Regions from separate parts of the Homo sapiens genome. Here region 2 is linked to region 1. Evidence: promoter capture Hi-C in human tissues and cell types (Jung and others, 2019). All regions are on one chromosome and are shown on one strand. Each heading gives the region's core, a stretch centred on a gene start or on the middle of the fragment in contact. The rest is flanking DNA. Distances are from core to core; before and after follow the strand shown.

What was found. Contacts are between HindIII fragments. The study calls those that stand out against the background at their distance.
Region 2: a contact is called between a fragment that was not itself captured here and the fragment with the promoter of BAIAP2 in region 1, in 1 of the 25 tissues and cell types used here (dorsolateral prefrontal cortex).

Annotation. Positions count from the first base shown.
Region 1 is chr17:81,033,098-81,037,001 of GRCh38, reverse strand. It overlaps BAIAP2 (BAR/IMD domain containing adaptor protein 2), which reads right to left and starts at 1,851. Exons shown (of 14, transcript NM_001144888.2): 1 at 1,694-1,851. The coding sequence starts at 1,747. It overlaps BAIAP2-DT (BAIAP2 divergent transcript), which reads left to right and starts at 2,283. Exons shown (of 2, transcript NR_026857.1): 1 at 2,283-2,437; 2 at 3,604-3,904. RefSeq lists an enhancer at 1,039-2,034 and a silencer at 1,906-2,215. The HindIII fragment of the contact is 14,233 bases long and covers 1-3,904 here.
Region 2 is chr17:81,502,971-81,506,874 of GRCh38, reverse strand. No RefSeq gene overlaps it. Among named protein-coding and RNA genes, the nearest start is that of ACTG1, 7.9 kb to the left of the region's middle. The HindIII fragment of the contact is 9,311 bases long and covers 1-3,904 here.

The sequences.
Region 1 (3,904 bases), core at 602-3,101:
GGGGTCGGTCCCCCAGAGCAAAACCACTCCATGTACTCACCCCCTGCCAACTCTCACCACGAAAGTTCCTGCTTTCTGGTTTCAGCGCAGAAGGAGAAAAAATAGGAAAAAGGTTCCGCTGGTACTTCTCTTCCACCCTCTGCAATCACAAACAAGTCGTAATGGAGCTAATGACTAATAATTTAATAAACCTCCCTCCCTTGACAACATGTGCTTCCACAGAGCAACAAGGCCAGAACCGTATGCCACAGACTCTGTGAAACCAAACCTAACAACCCCAGGGCCTGTGCCTTTCCCAAGCCGACTCCTCAGGTCACCCTGAATCCTGTTTCCCAGTGGCTCCGACGTGGCTTTAGGACTCATCTAGTCGACCGCACACCCGCCTTCAGAAACCTTCCAGACTGACGCGGCCCCAACTTCACAAGCTTTATTGAAAGCTGTATTCAAGTGCAATCGGCCCCCTGCACTCCAGCTGGAACCAGAGGGGCCACCCCTGAAGCCTCCATCTGGCTCTCCCAAGCCTGAGAGCTAAGAGGGCTTCCCAGGCCCCTGGCCAGGCACGCCTTGGCCGCCTACCACAATCAGAAACAGTTACTCTGCCGGGCAGGGTGCAAGCCGGTTAGGAAACATGAACCAGCGACTGCCGGGTAAATACCCACTCCACTCATCGCCCAGCCTGTCACTGAACCTGCAGACAGTTTTGAAACAAAGCACATCTGTAAGAGATCGCCCAGGACCCAGGGACACCCAGAGCAGGGGTTTCTCCTCTGAGAAAATGCTCCCCGGCAGCTGCCGGGCTCAGGCGTGGGGGTCTGGACCGAGAACGGATGCTGAAGAAAGAGAAAACCAAGGGCCTGTTTGTCGGTATCCCAGCCACAAAAACGACTGGGGAGGGGGCGGCAGGGGAGGCTTCCAGCGGTGCTCTGCGGCCCTTGGATGTGAACCTGTCATTTCGCAGACGAGAACGTGGATGCCACTCTTAACACATCTGAAGCAAAGGCAGGCACGTCAGCCTCCTACACAATTAGTCTTCTCTCTCCGCGGTTACATAAGATGATAGATTATCCGTCCACCCATCCAGCCTGCCCGCGCTCCGACCTCCCACCTTAGGCCCCAGCATGGGCGCCGGGCAGGAGTTGTGGGAAGGGAAAGCCTGTTGAGAATGAAGTGCCCGAGGCTCGCGCAACCGCGCCTGGAGGAGCCCCACGGTGCCACCGCGCCGACCGCGGCCTTCAGACAGCCCCCATGCCGTCCTGGCCGCCGCAACCCCTGGGCCCGCCGCCCCCGCCGCCCCGGCCCTGCCCGGGTGTGCTACGACCCCGACCGGTCCGAGGGCTTCCGGGGCCCGGCGCGCGGCTCCGTTCCCGCCGACGCCAAGGCGAGCGCGCGGGGGCCGAGCAGGGCCGTCGGAGCGGGGAGTGCTCCCCGGGCCTGGGGCTGGGGACTGACCGGGCCGCGGCGCGCATGGGATGGGGGGGCCCGGGCGGGGGTGGCCACCTGTGAGCGGCCGGCGCCGGGCTCACCACCCCAGCAGCCCGGGTCCCGGGTGGCCGCGCCGGGAAGACCCCCAAAGTCCCAGCCTCCTGGCCCGGCGCGCGGCCCCGGGGCCGCCCTGGTCGGGCTCGGGCGCGCGGGCGGCGCGCGACCCAGGCGCACACGGAGCGGGCTCAGCTCGGCGCCGGGGGGCGCTCACCTTATAGACATTTTCCGTGAGCCGGTGCATCTCCTCTGAGCGAGACAGAGACATGGTCCTGGGTCCCGGCTGCACCACAGACCGGAGCGGGGGACGCAAGCGGCGGCAGCAGCGGCGGTAACGGCAGCAGGACGGAGACGAAAGCGGACCCGAACCACAGAGCCCGGCGTCCGGCGGCGGCCACCTTTATAGCCGCCTCAGGCCCCGCCCCGCGGCAGTCCCCGCCCCTGCGTCCCGCCCCCGTTGCGCCCGCATCACCGCCCCCGACCACCCGCCCCCGCCCGGCGCTGCCGCTGCTAGGCAACCGCCAGGCCCCGCCCCCGCACCGCCCTTTCCATTGGTGGGTTCCGGAGAAGGGGGAGGGGGGCGGGATCGGAGGTGGGGCCTAGTGGCCGACTCCAGGCAGCGATTGGTCTGCGGCGGCGTCGATCCTGGGGGAGGAGAGGGGAGGCGCGGCGCGGGCTGGGGCCCTGGGAGCAGCCTGAGGGGGCCCGGGCAACAGCCGGGCTGGGGGCGGGGAGGCGGGGGCGGGGTGGCGCAGGAAGAAGGAGCAGAAGGTGCGGGGAGGAGAGCGGGGGGCGCCGGCGGCAGCGCGCGTGGAGGCGGCACTTCGCGAAGTGGCACTTCGGGGCGGGCGGCCCGCCGGGTCGCGGCCTGGCGCTGCGGGGCGGGGAGCGGCTCGGACGCAGGACGCCGCGGGCCGGGCTTACAGGTGGGAGAGGCCCCGACCCCGCCGCTTCGCAGGTAAGCCCGCCGGGCGGGCGGCGACCCCCCGGCCGGCCCCTCGGGGCAGAGAGGAGAACCCTGGGGGAGGGGGTGCTGCAGGAGGACCCTGGAGAGAGCTCGGCCCTGGAGTGGGGGACGACTTGGAGAAGGAGGATTTCGGGGGAGCATCGTGAGGAGAGGACTTGGAGGGAGGATCCTGCAGAAGGTGAACTCTGGGGAGGACCCCAGACAGGCAGACAGCGCTTGGGGGCTTGGGGCCGGGATTCTGGAGAGGGGAGGACCCTGGGAGAGGAGGGTTGGGGAAGAGGATCTTGGAGGAGGGCCCTGGGAAGGAGGATCTGGAGAGGGGACAGGGGAGTGTCCTGCTGGAAGGCCTGGGGACAGGGCGACCCTTAGGGACGGGGAGGACCCTCCTGCCGTCAGAAGATTCTCGTTGGAGGCAGTTTACTGAGAGAGAGAGGTCTCGGGAAGGAAGGGTCGAGGGCAGTAGGAAACGAGGGGCCCGGAGGACTCTCATGCGGTGGAAAGCCCTAGGGGGTGGGGGAACCTTGTAGGAGGAATGGAGGAGTCAGAGCTGCCTCCAATTTTTAGGAAGGGTCCTGCTTAAGGGTCCTCCCAAGGGGAGATTCTGCCGGGGAAGCTGGCCGAGTTGGCACACAGGTCTCCCGGTACAATTCCCGTGGAGAAATATTTACATAAATTAGGCTAACATAGAGGAATTATTTGTTTTACGTTGTGAAACACCAGATCTGAGCGTTTCCGTTTAATGAAACCTCTCAGTCTCCCAGCCTCCCATCCCTGCAAAATCATTCATTCATTCATTCCTTCAACGAGTCAGGCCCCTGGGGGAGACGCAGTTGTGCTGGCTGGCCGGCAGATCCCCAGACTGGCACGGGCTCAGGCCGATGGAAAGACCAGGGAAGTAAGATTCAGGAAGCATTGCCTCCCTCCCACCACAGCCCCGCGCCTCCTCTCCTCCGGCTGAATTTCCTTCCAGCTACTGGCCCTGGCTGCTTCCTTTTTCTTTATTGTCTCCAGTGTTTGGGGGTAGATCCCTGTGTATTTATTTTCTAGGATTCTTTTGGTGGTAAATGACAGAAAGCTCGCTCAAACTGGCCCTAACAAATGAGGGCATTTACCTGAAGGTAGGAGCATCTCCACTGACCCTGACCCCCTTCTTCTAGGCCAGCTTCCTGCTGTGTTCCCTGCACCCACCGATCTCACACGCAGCCCTAGGACAGACGTCCACTGGCCTGAGTTGGGTCTGGGGCCAACACGGAGCAGGTGGGGGTAGAGCAGCTCTGCTCGCCTGGAGGAAAGTTGAATGGCTGGAACCAAGATGACAGATGGAGGCTGGCAGGCAAACACGGGAGGCCTCCTCACTCCAAGAGGGGAGTCAGCCTGGGGACAGTTCTTCTCCAGGCCCTGCTGCTCCCATCAGCTGCAACACAGGAGAGGTAGGCTTCTCCGGAAAAGCTCCCACGG
Region 2 (3,904 bases), core at 417-2,916, 470 kb before region 1:
ACCTGGTTAATTTTTGTATTTTTAGTAGAGACGGGGTTTCACCATGTTGGCCGGAATGGTCTTGATCCCCTGACCTCAGGTGATCTGCCTGCCTCGGCCTCCCAAAGTGCTGGGATCACAGGTGTGAGCCACTGCGCCTGGCCTGTACACTTTTAAACGATTAAAATGGTAACTTTTATGTTCCATATTTCTTTTTCTTTTTCTTTCTTTTTTTTTTCTTTTTTGAGATGGAGTGTCGCTCTTGTTGCCCAATTGGAGTGCAATGGCGCAATCTCAGCTCACCACAACCTCCACCTCCTGGGTTCAAGCGATTCTCCTGCCTCAGCCTCCCAAGTAGCTGGGATTACAGGCATGCGCCACCGCGCCCAGCTAATTTTGTATTTTCGGTAGAGATGGGGTTTCTCCATGTTGGTCAGTCTGGTCTCAAACTCCTGACCTCAGGTGATCCGTCCACCTCGGCCTCCCAAAGTGCTGGGATTACAGGCATGAGCCACCGCGCCCGGCTGCAACAGCAATATATTGACTCAGAGGAGGACAGGTGCTGCTGAAAGGGGCTGAGAGAATCTGATCCTGGCTCAGCACAGCTGGGGATTGGCCTCCTCCATGGCCTTTTGTTTGTTTGCTTTTGTGTTTTTTTTGGAGACAGCATCTCACTATGTTGCCCAGGCTGAACTCCTGGACTCAATGGTCCTCCTGCTTAGGCCTCCCAAAGTGCTGGGATTACAGGCATGAGCCACTGCACCCAGCCTAGGACTCTTTTTGAAAAAACAACCACAAGCTGGGCGCGGTGGCTCATTCCTGTAATCCCACCACTTTGGGAAGCCGAGACGGGCGGATCACGAGGTCAGGAGTTCAAGACCAGCCTGGCCAACATGGTGAAACCCATCTCTACTAAAAATACAAAAATTAGCCAGGCATGGTGGCGTGCGCCTGTAATCCCAGCTATTCCAGAGGCTGAGGCAGGAGAATTGCTTGAACCCACATGGCAGAGGTTGCAGTGAGCCGAGATTGAGCCACTGCACTCCAGCCTGGGTGACAGAGCAAGACTCTATCTCAAAAAAAAAAAAAAAAAAAAAAAAATCACAGTATCATGCCCCCACCCACCAATTATTGATCGATACTTAGTATCATCTAATGTCCAAATTTCCTTGGTTGTCTTAAATTTTTTGTTGTTGTTTTGTTTGTCTGTTTTTTTGGGGGGACAGGGTCTTGCTTTGTTGCCCAGGCTAGAGTGCAGTGGCACAATCACAGCTCACTGCAGCCTCGACTTCCTAGGCTCAAGCAATCCTCCCACCTCAGCCGCTTGAGTAGCTGGGACTACAGGCGTGCACCACCATGCCCAGATAATTTTTAAACTTTCTGTAGAGATGGGGTCTCCCTATGTTGCTTAGGCTGGTCTCAAGCTCCTGGTCTCAAGAGATCCTCTCACCTCAGCCTCCTAAAATGTGGCGATTACAGGTGTGAGCCACCATGCCCAGCCTTAAATTTCTTTCTTTTTTTTTTTTGAGACGGAGTCTCACTCTGTCACCCGGGCTGGAGTGCAGTGGTGTGATCTCGGCTCGCTGCAAGCTCCGCCTCCTGGGTTCATGCCATTCTCCTGCCTCAGCCTCCCGAGTAGCTGGGACTACAGGCGCCCACCACCACGCCCGGCTGGTGTATTTTTAGTAGAGACGGGGTATTTTTTTTGTATTTTTTTGTATTTTTTTTGTATTTTTAGTAGAGACGGGGTTTCACCGTGTTGGCCAGGATGGTCTCGATCTCCTGACCTCGTGATCCACCCGCCTCGGCCCCCCAAAGTGCTGGGATTACAGGCGTGAGCCACCGCGACCCACCTAAATTTCTTTTAACGGTTGGTTTCCAATCATTGCACTTGGCCACTATGTCTCTTAAATCTCTTTTAACCGCGGGATTTACCCTCTTTCATTTTTCTCCTTTCAGGTTATTTGTGGAAGAAGGCAGGTCTTTTGTTCCAAAGGGTTCCACCTGTCTGGATTTTGCTGATTTCGTCCTTGTGGTTGATGTGGCACGTTCCTCAACCCTTATATTTCCTATAGTCAGTTAGCTCTAGGTGTAAATGTCCAAACTGGTCTGTTTAATCTCATTCAGGTTGATTTTTTTAGCAAGAAGATGACCACAGGGTGGGTGCAACTTCATGGAGAGGGAAAGAGTCCCACAGAGCCTGATGTTGTGATATTAGCAGCCATTGGAAATCCCTGCCAGGACCTGCTATTTCATTAGTGGTTACAAATTATTCTCCCCCTCCACTCCCCTCCCCTCCCTCTTTTCTCCTCTCCTCCTCTCCCTCCCTCCCTCCTTCTCTCCTTCCCTCCTTCCCTCCCTCCCTTTCTTTTTTGATGGAGTCTCACTCTCTCGCCGCTGGAGTGCGGCCTCCGCCTCCAGTTTCCAGCAATTCTCCTGCCTCAGCCTCCTGAGTAGCTGGGACTATAGGCGCCCACCACCACGCCTGGCTAATTTTTTTTTTGTATTTTTAGTAGAGATGGGATTTCACCGTGTTAGCCAGGATGGTCTTGATCTCCTGACCTCGTGATCTGCCTGTCTCGGCCTCCCAGAGTGCTGGGATTACAGGCGTGAGCCACTGCGCCTGGCCTATTTCTTTCTTTTTTTTAATGGAGTTTTGCTCTTGTTGCCCAGACTGGAGTCCGGTGGTGTGATCTCGGCTCACTGTAACCTCCACCTTCTGGGTTCAAGCGATTCTCCTGCCTCAGCTTCCCAAGTAGCTGGGATTATAGGTGCCCACCACCATGCCCCACTAATTTTTGTATTTTCTGTAGAGCCAGGGTTTCACCATGTTGGTTGGCCAGGCTGGTCTTGAACTTCTGACCTCAGGTGATCTGCCCACCTTGGCCTTCCAAAGTGCTGGGATTACAGGCATGAGGCACTGCACCTGGCCTTTTCTTTTCTTTTCTTCTTTTCTTTCCCTTTCTCCCTCCCTTTCTTCTCCCTTCCTTCCTTCCTTCCCTTCTTTCTTTCCCTCCCTCCCTCCCTTCTTTCTTTTTCTTTTTTCTTTCTTTCCTTTTTTCTCTCTTTCTTTTCTTTCTCCTCTTTCTTTCTTGCTTGCTTTCTTTCTTGCTTGCTTTCCTTCTTCCTTTCCTCTTTCCTTTCTTTCTTTCTTTTCTTCTTTCCAGGGTCTTGCTCTGTCACCCTGGCTGGAGTGCAGTGGCAATAGAGGCTCACTGTAGCCTTGACCTCAGGGGCTCAAGCAATCCTCCCACCTCAGTCTCCCTAGTAGCTAGGACCAGCACGCCTGGTTAATGGTTTTCTAATTCTATCCTTCCTTTTTTTTCTTTTTGAGATGGAGTCTCGCTCTGTCGCCCAGGCTGGGGTGCAGGGGCGCGATCTCGGCTCACTACAAGTTCCGCCTCCTGGGTTCACACCATTCTCCTGCCTCAGCCTCCCGAGTAGCTGGGACCACAGGCGCCCGCCACCACGCCTGGCTAATTTTTTGTATTTTTACTAGAGACGGGGTTTCACAGTGTTAGCCAGGATGGTCTCGATCTCCTGACCTCGTGATCCGCCCGCCTCGGCCTCCCAAAGTGCTGGGATTACAGGTGTAAGCCACCGCGCCCAGCCTGTTTTCAATATCTTAAATGCCATTCAGCTTAGTTAACAGAAACTTCTGGAAGGGATGCCTGCTCTGAGAAGTGTCACACGTGCTGGGGGACTTCAGGGCACTCCTGAAAGGGCTCCCCTTCCCCAGGATCCCTGGGTCCTGATGGTAGGCAGAGGTGGAGGATGTTCTCCAAGCCGAGCCTTCCTGCAGCTTTCAGAGCCTGTCCACACCACCGGCATCCCTCTACCCAGACCAATTTTCCCCGGCAGGAGATGGACATTGTGTTTATTGGATGCAATTTCAAACCCCTTTCATGTTTTCATAGAGGATGGA